2 separate regions of the Homo sapiens genome follow, and region 2 is linked to region 1. Evidence: promoter capture Hi-C in human tissues and cell types (Jung and others, 2019). All regions are on one chromosome and are shown on one strand. Each heading gives the region's core, a stretch centred on a gene start or on the middle of the fragment in contact. The rest is flanking DNA. Distances are from core to core; before and after follow the strand shown.

Region 1 (5,231 bases), core at 1,705-4,204:
CTATCCAAACAACTTGACCTTACTGTTTTAGCCTAGCCCTCATGTCTGTGTACGGCAGCTGTCGCTGCTTTAATACTTTTAGAGGCCCTCAAAATCACAAACTGTGCTCAACTCACTCTCTCCAGTTCTCATAACTTCCAAAATCTATTTTCTTCCTCACACCTGATGCATATACTTTCTGCCCCGCTCCACTACCTCTCAGCAAGCTGAACTCATTGCCTTAACTGGAGCCCTAACCCTTGCAAATGAATTACACGTCAATATTTATACTGACTCTAAAGATGCCTTCCATATCCTGCACCACCATGCTGTTGTATGGGCTGAAAGAGGTCTCCTCACTACACAAGGGTCCTCCATCTTAATGCCTCTTTAATAAAAACTCTTCTCAAGGCCGCTTTACTTCCAAAGGAAGCTGGAGTCATTCACTGCAAGGGCCATCAAAAGGCATCAGATCCCATTGCTCTGGGCAATGCTTATGCTGATAAGGTAGCTAAAAAGCAGCTAGCATTCCAACTTCTATCCCTCACAGCCAGTTTTTCTCCTTCTCATCGGTCACTCCCACCTACTCCCCTACTAAAACTTCCACCTATCAATCTCTTCCCACACAAGGCAAATGGTTCTTAGACCAAGGAAAATATCTCCTTCCAGCCTCACAGGCCCATTCTATTCTGTCGTCATTTCATAACCTCTTCCATGTAGGTTACAAGCCACTAGCCCACCTCTTAGAACCTCTCATTTCCTTTCCATCATGGAAATCTATCCACAAGGAAATCACTTCTCAGGGTTCCATCTGCTAGTCTACTACTCCTCAGGACCCTCCCTTCCCTACACATCAAGCTCAGGGATTTGCCTCTGCCCAGGACTGGCAAATTGACTTTACTCACATGCCCCAAGTCAGGAAACTAAAATACCTCTTGGTCTAGGTAGACACGTTCACCGGTTGGGTAGAGACCTTTCCCGTAGGGTCTGAAAAGGCCACCACGATCATTTCTTCCCTTCTGTCAGACATAATTCCTCGGTTTGGCCTTCCTACCTCTATACAGTCTGATAACAGACCAGCCTTTATTAGTCAAATCACTCAAGCAGTTTCTCAGGCTCTTGGTATTCAGTGAAACCTTCATACCCCTTACCGTCTTCAATCTTCAGGAAAGGTAAAACGGACTAATGGTCTTTTAAAAACACACCTCACCAAACTCAGCCTCCAACTTAAAAAAAGGACTCTGTCAAGAATAGAGCCCAAAAACTCACCAACCAAACAAGTAATTACACTGAATCCCCTTGGGCACTCTCTAATCGGATGTCCTGGGTCCTCCCAATTCTTAGTCCTTTAATACCTGTTTTTCTCCTTCTCTTATTCAGACCTTGTGTCTTCCATTTAGTTTTTCAGTTCATACAAAATTGCATCCAGGCCATCACCAATCATTCTACATGACAAATGCTCCTTTTAACAACCCCACAATATCACCCCTTACCACAAAATCTTCCTTTGGCTTAATCTCTCCCACTCTAGGTTCCCACACTGCCCTTAATCCTGCTTGAAGCAGCCCTGAGAAACATTGCCCATTATCTCTCCATACCACCCCCAAAATTTTTGCTGCCCCAACACTTCAACACTATTTTATGTTATTTTTCTTACTAATATAAGAAGACAGGAATATCAGGCCTCTGAGCCCAAGCTAAGCCATCATGTCCCCTGTGACCTGCACGTATGCACCCAGATGGCCTGAAGTAACTGAAGGATCACAAAAGAAGTGAAAACGGCCTGTTCCTGCCTTAACTGATGACATTACCTTGTGAAATTCCTTCTCCTGGCTCATCCTGGCTCAAAAGCTCCCCCACTGAGCACCTTGTGTCCCCTGCCCGTGCCTGCCAAAGAACAACCCCTTTGACTGTAATTTTCCATGACCTACCCAAATCCTATAAAACGGCCCCACCCCTATCTCCCTTCGCTGACTCTCTTTACGGACTTAGCCCACCTGCACCCAGGTGATTAAAAAGCTTTATTGCTCACACAAAGCCTGTTCAGTGGTCTCTTCACAGGGACACGCGTGAAAGAGAGAACCCTGAAATCTGGCATGCCGGTGAAAGGATAAGAATTTCTTATGAGTCAGTCTCTGGGCTCTTTCCCTCTATGCAAACTGGTTAAATATAAAGTAGAAGTCACGTATATCTCCTCTGTAAGATTTTAAATTAATTGGTTTAATAATAATAAAAGCTTAAGTCAAATATTTTGTCAGAAAAGTAGAAAGTGTAATGCCTTTTAGTTCATGTGACTTTAGCAATAGTTGGGAAATAAAGACAGTTTTCAAGATTATTGGAAAAATACAGTTGTCTTCAAAATGTAAACATGTGGTGTACATTATGTTCAAATACTAGGTTTGCTAAATCCTTTAACATCATAAGCTACTCCTTTGGCTTTTGAAAATTGTTTAACTTGCCTGCTTTCCAGCTAGGTAAGGCCTGGGGACACGTGGAGTTAGCCATGCCCCTAGCTGTGCTGGAAGTAGTCAAACCTTATCAGAAACTTTATCAGAACTTACCAGTTTTTTTTGTTTTTGTTTTTGTTTTGACAGAGTCTCACTCTGTCCCCCAGGCTGGAGTGCAGTGGCGCAATCTCGGCTCACCCACAATCTCCATCTCCCAGATTCAAGCAATTCTCTGCCCTAGCCTCCTGAGTAGCTGGAATTACAGACGCCCGCCACCACACCTGGCTAATTTTTTATTATTATTTTTAGTAGAGATGGGGTTTTACCATCTTGGCTAGGCTGGTCTTGAACTCCTGACCTCATGATCCACCCGCCTCGGCCTCCCAAAGTGCTGGGATTACAGGAGTGAGCCACCGCGCCTGGCCTAACTTACCAGGTTTTATGTTAAAATTCGCCATTATAGGCCAGTCACAGTGCCTCGCACCTGTAATCCCAGCATTTGGGGAGGCCGAGGCAGGTGGATCACCTAAGGTCAGGAGTTCAAGACCAGCCTGACCAACATGGTGAAACCCCCATCTCTAGTAAAAATACAAAATTAGCTGGGCAAGGTGGTGCCTGCCTGTAATCCCAGCTACTGGGGAGGCTGAGGCAGGAGAATCATTTGAACTCAGGAGGCAGAGGTTGAAGTGAGCCGAGATCATGCCATTGCACTCCAGCCTGGGCAACAAGAGTGAAACTCTGTCTCAAAAAAAACAAATTTGCCATTATAACATGCAATTAAGACTACTAGAAACAGTTTTACATGCAAGGTGTATAAGAACAGTAGAAAGTGTTGGGGGTTTTTTTGTGTGTGTGGAAGGTTACAAAAGGTTTTTGCTTCTTTAAAATTTCTGAGTCATCATTTTGGCAAAATAAATAGTTTACGGTAATCTGGAATTCCAAAATCAAACTTCAGTTTCAAAATTGTCTTTCCTAATGCCTGGCTTTCTAGATGAATCAGAGGGCCCCTGAAAACATCCAGAAAAGAGGTAAACAGGATTATTTGACATGTTTAGGTACATGGGATTGACAAAATGATGTTAAATCTTCTTTAGGTTATATTTTTGTGAATAATATATTCCAAAATTGTATGGGATTTCTCAAATTCTAATGTCTAAGTATATGTTACCAATCACAATTATAATTATGTTAAGTTATTGTAAACCACAAAAATGACCAAATTTTCTTGTATAAAGCTACTAACCCACGTAAAACAACAACAACAAAAAATTAATTACATATCAAGAAAAGACTTTCATGTTAAACCAGCTAATACTGAAATTGTTTAAAATAGTTTATAACCTGTCGCTTTGCAGATGCCGTCACTGCCACCAGGAGCCCTGTACTATCAGCCATGGTCAACCCCACCGTGTTCTTTGACATCGCAGTCACGGCGAGCCCTTGGGTCACGTCTCCTTTGAGCTGTTTGCAGACAAGATTCCAAAAACAGCAGAAAACTTTCATGCTCTGAGCACTGGAGAGGAAGGATTTGGTTATAAGGGTTCCTGCTTTCACATAATTATTCCAGGATTTATGTGTCAGGGTGGTGACTTCATATGCCATAATGGCACTGGTGGCAAGTCCATCTATGGGGAGAAATTTGATGATGAGAACTTCATCCTAAGGCATACACGTCCTGGCATCTTGTCCATGGCAAATGCTGGATCCAATACAAACGGTTCCCAGTTTTTCATCTGCACTGACAAGACTGAGTGGTGGATGGCAAGCATGTGGTCTTTGGCAAGGTGAAAGAAGGCATGAATATTGTGGAGGCCACGGAGCGCTTTGGGTCCAGGAATGGCAAGACCAGGAAGAAGATCACCATTGCTGACTGTGGACAACTCTAATAAGTTTGACTTGTGTTTTATCTTAACCACCAGACCATTCCTTCTGTAGCTCAGGACAGCACCCTCCACCCCATTTGCTCGCAGTATCCTAGAATCTTTGTGCTCTCGCTGCAGTTCCCTTCCATGCCTAGCTGGACTGCAGAGTTGAGTTAAAGTTTATGATTATGAAATAAAAACTAAATAACAACAAAAAATTGTTTATAACCAATGCTTGATCCCATATTCCTAGGAAAACAATTAAAGCTTCAGGTATATTTGGTCTTCTGGTCAGCCATTTAAACATTTTATAAAGGGATTTCATTCCATTGTTATTTTCCATGCATGTTTTCTGGTTGTAGAAAAGCTTTCCCATGCAAGAGGGCTGATGTTATAACAGTAGATTATTATGCTACAGTGTATTTTCACCAGATTAAAAAAAAAAGCTTTTTATGGTTTGAATCTGCTGGAAACATCAGAGAAAGACTGTCCTTGCCATCTACACTATAACAAAACTTCAGGACCTTGAACTTTGGGTTCATAATCTCACAACTGAGAAGGGCCCCTCCATGCTCTTGGAGCTGTGCACCCACTGGAATGCTTAAGGTAAAACTAACTAGGGAAATTTCTCCCAAGAAGAAGATGACATCATTGATGTGAACAGCTTTTCCCAAGTTCACAGATTAAGACTTCTACTATCATGAAACTCTTATTTTTGAATATTTTTTCTTGCTTATGCCTTCTACGAACAATAGAAGTGGAAAAGGGGTCTGTTATGTGCACTTATGGGGAACATTTTTATTTGTGAAGGAGTTTGCAGCCAGCCTTATACATGGATAAAGGCCCAATGTATGTAAGAAACTTTAATGGTAGATGTGTTAGCTCATAATCAATCAAAAACAAAAAATTGATTCACTCCACATAACCCACATCGTGGGTTAAA
Region 2 (5,052 bases), core at 1,912-4,411, 340 kb after region 1:
ACTATTTAAAATTAAATACTTACACTATGTAAATCTAGGATGAAAAGTTTCAGGTGCCAACTTAAAAGTATATAAGATCTAACAGATTCCACAGTCTTTTAGACATTCTCAAGAAGAAATGTTTTAAGACTAGTGACCCAGCCTATACCTGAAAGCCTGAAATGACAAGGAGAAAAATAATCATTCATGCCAAAGCAACACCACCATATCTTCAAACTTTTGACTTCTGCCCATAAATTTACTCTTAGCACATCTAGATCTAAACCTAATATTCCAGGTACAAGCCTACCAGTGATGCAACCTTTCTCATTCTAGATTTTGCATTTTCCTGATACAATATACTAATGCAGGTCACATCGGTTCTTCTCACAGCCTTCTTAACCACACCACTGATTGGTGATTAAAACATCACATCTTTTTATTATAGAACTCCTGTGAGGTCACATCTCCACCCTCCCCTAATAGGTATAGTTGATTTTGTTTGGACCCAAGCGCAATTTCTCACATTTATACATGCTTCCTTCATTTCATTAAACAGCACTGAGCAAATTATATTGAGATCTTTTCCCATTCTGGCAATCACCAACCAAATGACTCTTTCTTTACTTCACAAAGGCACCAAATCCAATAAGCAAACCTTCTAGATAAGGTCTCAAATACATGAAGTATATAAAGAAAGTGATGAAACCCCAGTTTAGATCACCGGAATTCCAGCTGTAAGTAGTGTCCACAAATCAAACCTCTCCATACATAGATTTTCAAACTCATGACTCCATCTAACTACCACAATCTGGCAAATTCCTCCATCTCGCCCACTCAGTTATAGTAAGACTCAGTAAGACCAGGCGCGGTGGCTCACACCTGTAATCCCAGCACTTTGGGAGGCTGAGGTGAGTGGATCACCTGAGGTCGGGAGTTCGAGACCAGCCCGGCCAACATGGTGAAACCCCATCTCTACTGAAAATACAAAAATTAGCCAGGCGTGGTGGTGCATGCTTGTAGTCCCAGGTACTTGGGAGGCTGAGGCAGGAGAATCGCTTGAACCAGGAGGCAGAGGTTACAGTGAGCAGAAATTGCACCACTGCACTCCGTCCAACCTGGGCAATGGAGTGAGACTCCATCTCAAAAAAAAAAACAAAAACTTCATAAATGCCTTGCTAAAATTCTGACACACTATCATTATGGTCACTACACTCCTTTGAGCCACAATTTGGATGTCCTGTCCTGTTGTTCTGGCTGAATTTAGGAGAACTCTAGTAAGCCCTTCTCTGGATAAGAAAAGAAAAATGATACATCTTCCATTTTGTATTAATTACAGAATCTCACAAATGGCAAGGATTTTAAACATTTTCTAATGTTGTTTTTCTTAGACAGAGTCTTGCTATGTTGCCCAGGCTGGCCTTAAGCAATCCTCCCACCACTGCACTCGGCCCTAGTCTAATATTTTTCTTTTCTTTTCTTTTTTTGAGAAGTTTAGTTCTTGTTGCCCAGGCTGGAGTGCAGTAGCATATCTTGGCTCACTGCAACCTCTCCCTCCCAGGTTCAAGCGTTTCTCCTGCCTCAGCCTCCCAAATAGCTGGGATTATAGGCACCCACCACCACCCAGCTAAGTTTTGTATTTTTAGTACATACGGGGTTTCACCACGTTGCCCAGACTGGTCTCCAACTCCTGACCTCAGGTGATCCACCCGCCTCAGCATCCCAAAGTGCTGGGATTACTGGCGTGAGCCACAGTGCCCGGCCTTAATATTTTTCAAACTATACGTCATGACCTATTAGGGGTCAGACTCAATTTAGTGAGTTGCAACCAATATTTTTTTAGAGTGCATCTTCTGTAGAAAGGGTAAGTAAACTTTTCATTGGTGTGTGTGTGTGTGTACACACTGAGTGTGCAGGGGCACAATAAGTCATGATGTATAATATATCTAACTGTGGGTCACAGGTAAAAAATTTTGAGACACTTTTCTAGCCCCACAGCCCTATGCCAAGGAGGCTCTACCAAGAAATTGGTAATAAACAAAATGTCATGTTTTTACATCATACAGAGAAACTAGCTAAGAGGATTTTGTGCTCAGTACACGTAATCTGCCATTCATTAAAAAAAAAAAAAAAGATTAGGATCCATCTGGGTGTCCAGTTGAAATACTAAACTGCTTGGAGACAGCCATTTCTGTTTTGGTGGGGTGAAGACCTGTATTTGAGACAGCAGACTGAAATCGGTTTGGTCTGTGGCGAAGGAAGAGAAGAAAAACCATTCTGGGTCGCGAGTTCCTCACCTGTAACCACAGGAGAAGACTGTTGGCTTGGTCAGTTGATTTTCAACTAATCTCCCAATTGAAGAGTTAGGCGAAGCAATTGCTATTGGGAGATTAACTGAAAATTAACTGACCAAGCCAACAAGGACTATGCCTCCCACAAACCAAAACACTTTAACCACTCAGCAAGTCAAGTATTGATACATACAATCAATATCACACAAAGTGTACTGAAAAGAACCACAGACTTGCATCAAAGGCAGAAATGAATCCAGGGATAACTTCCTGGGATTCGAAGATGTGACCTGGTAGGTATAAATTTCTCAGGCATCCTCTTTTTCTACCCTCCAGTTCATCTCCGTCCTCAAGCTATCAGTCATGGATGTGGCACTGGCGTTCTTCTCTGCCACCGTATCTCATTATGCAAAGGGAAACTGAGGCACGAAGAACAGAGTGAGTGAGCCAAAGAACTGCAGCAGCCACCAACAAGGCTGGACTAAGGGCCCAAGCAGCTAATGCCTCACTCCCCACACAATCCCCATACTATTTAGAATCCTGCAGTCCTCAGCCTTCCACCTCAAACCAAACTCCTGGGGCCGCCCGTAGTACGTGGTCCCCTGCTCATCCGATGAAGCCCCCAGCTCTTGCCTGCCTGCCTGCCTCTATAAAGGTCTACGAGGCCTGGAACTCTGAAGCCTAAAGCAACCCCGGCAGCCCCCTCCCACGACCGTCCACAAACCAGTAGCCTCCCTTCGCTCCCACCTCCGCGCCGACGGGCCTGGAGCTCCTCCGCACACCACACCAAGCCGACCACTCAACACCAGAGGACCCACAGAAGAATTCTCTCCACGCCCACCCCCACAGCATCGGCCTTCACCACCGCCGCCGCTGCCGGAAGCGCCCCCACGTCTCCACGCCACCACCGTGAGGTCACTTCCGGCGCGACACCTTGGAATCCAGGGCCGTCAATTGAGGGGCGTGGCACCCGGGAAATTTAAGAGGTTGGAAGAACGTCCCTTCGGCCTTACAGAATTGCGCTTGGGTAGTCATTTTGCCCTCCACGCTTACTTATGTCCTGTGGCGTCTTGGCTGGAATCGGGGCTCTACCCACGACTCCCCAGCCTCGATGCCTGGGCCCCCCTCTTGCAGGCTCGATGAAAAGCACCCGCTTCCCCTCCTGTTACCCCAGCGCCAATCGCAGAGCTGGAGCGGAGGACTTTCAGGGAGGCCTGGTGACGTGACAGCCCCTCCGTGCTAAACTGCAGCTGTGGGACTTAATAAGTGCGACAACCCCCTGATGGATTAAAGAAAACAAGATATTCCTGCCGTGGTCGATCTTCAAAGCGTATCAGCTTCAGCCCTTTTGGGGGTTAAAATCAGCCAGTCCGTGCTTGACTGCTCTCCCTTCCCCCATACTCAGTACACAGGAAAGTGCCGCTCTTCTACCCCTGGCATTTTAGAGTCTTGATTTGTGGGGAGACGGGAAAGCATGCGTTTAGGGCCAAGACCGTGTAATGAGGAATATTGCACAGCCTTGAAGCCTGACACCTGGTTTGGGAACCACTACTTGGGCGAATAGCATAGAGTAGGGTAGCAGTTCCAAACCTAGCTCTACAAAATCAGTTGAAGAACTTTGTAAAATCTACACTTTCTAGGGGACTGCTTCACCCTTCCCCCTCCATCACCAGAGATTCCCTAGGTCAGAAGGGGTCCTTGTCTTTTAAAATTACTGTTATTAATGAACACTTATAGAGCAGTTTTTGGTTCAGGGCAAAACTGAACAGAAAGTACAGAGTTCCCATATATCCCCTGTACACACAGGCACATACACAACTTGTCCCCTCATGGACATCTTGTGCTACAGTGGTACATTTGGTAACAATTGATTACCCAACTTTGACACATCATTATCACCCAGAGTCCATAGTTTACATTAGAGTTTACTCTCGGTGTTGCACATTCTGTGGGTTTTGACATATATGTAATGACATGTATCCACCATTATGGTATCATACACGATAGTTTCACTGCCCTGAAAATCCTCTGTCCTCTGCCTATTTATCCTTCTCAGTCCCCTAACCACTGGCAACCACTGCTCCTTTTACTGTCTCCATAGTTTTGCCTTTTCCAGAATCCCATATAGTTGGAATCATACAGTATGCAGCCTTTTCACATCGGATTCTTTCACTTATGCACTTAAAGTTCTTCCATGTCTTTTCATGGCTTGATAGCTCATTTCTTTTTTGTGCTGAATAATAATATTCCATCGTCTGGATGTGCTGCGGTTTATCCATTCACCTACTGAAAGACATCTTGGTGGCCTCCAAGTTTGGGTAATTATGAATAAAGCCGCTATACATCATGTGCAGATTTTTGTGTAGACATGAGTTTTCAATTCATCTGGGTAAATACCAAGGAGTGCAACTGCTGGATTGGATGGTATATTTAGTTTTGGGAGAAACTACCAAACTGCCTTTCAAAGTGGCTGCATCATTTTGCATTCCCACAGCAGTGAATGAGGGTTTCTGTTGCTCCACATCCTTGTCAGCGTTTTGTGGTGTCAGTATTTTGCCGTTCAAGTAAGTGTGTAGTAGTATCTTATTGTTTTAATATGCAATTCCCTAATGACATATGATATTGAACATCTTTTCATATACTTACTTGCCATGTGTATATCTTCTTTGATGAAGTGTTCATTCAGGTATTTTGCCCATTTTTACATTGTGTTATTTTCTTGTTGTGATTTAAGAGTTCTGGGTATATTGTAGATAACAGTCCTCTATCAGATACGTCTTTT

The links. Contacts are between HindIII fragments. The study calls those that stand out against the background at their distance.
Region 2: a contact is called between the fragment with the promoter of EDC3 here and a fragment that was not itself captured in region 1, in 2 of the 25 tissues and cell types used here (dorsolateral prefrontal cortex and hippocampus).

What each region holds. Positions count from the first base shown.
Region 1 is chr15:74,357,733-74,362,963 of GRCh38, forward strand. All of the region lies in intron 1 of CYP11A1 (cytochrome P450 family 11 subfamily A member 1), which reads right to left. It also overlaps the pseudogene PPIAP46. Among named protein-coding and RNA genes, the nearest start is that of CYP11A1, 7.3 kb to the right of the region's middle. The HindIII fragment of the contact is 5,215 bases long and covers 348-5,231 here.
Region 2 is chr15:74,692,863-74,697,914 of GRCh38, forward strand. It overlaps EDC3 (enhancer of mRNA decapping 3), which reads right to left and starts at 3,162. Exons shown (of 7, transcript NM_025083.5): 1 at 3,018-3,162. RefSeq lists an enhancer at 3,122-3,211. The HindIII fragment of the contact is 33,216 bases long and covers 1-5,052 here.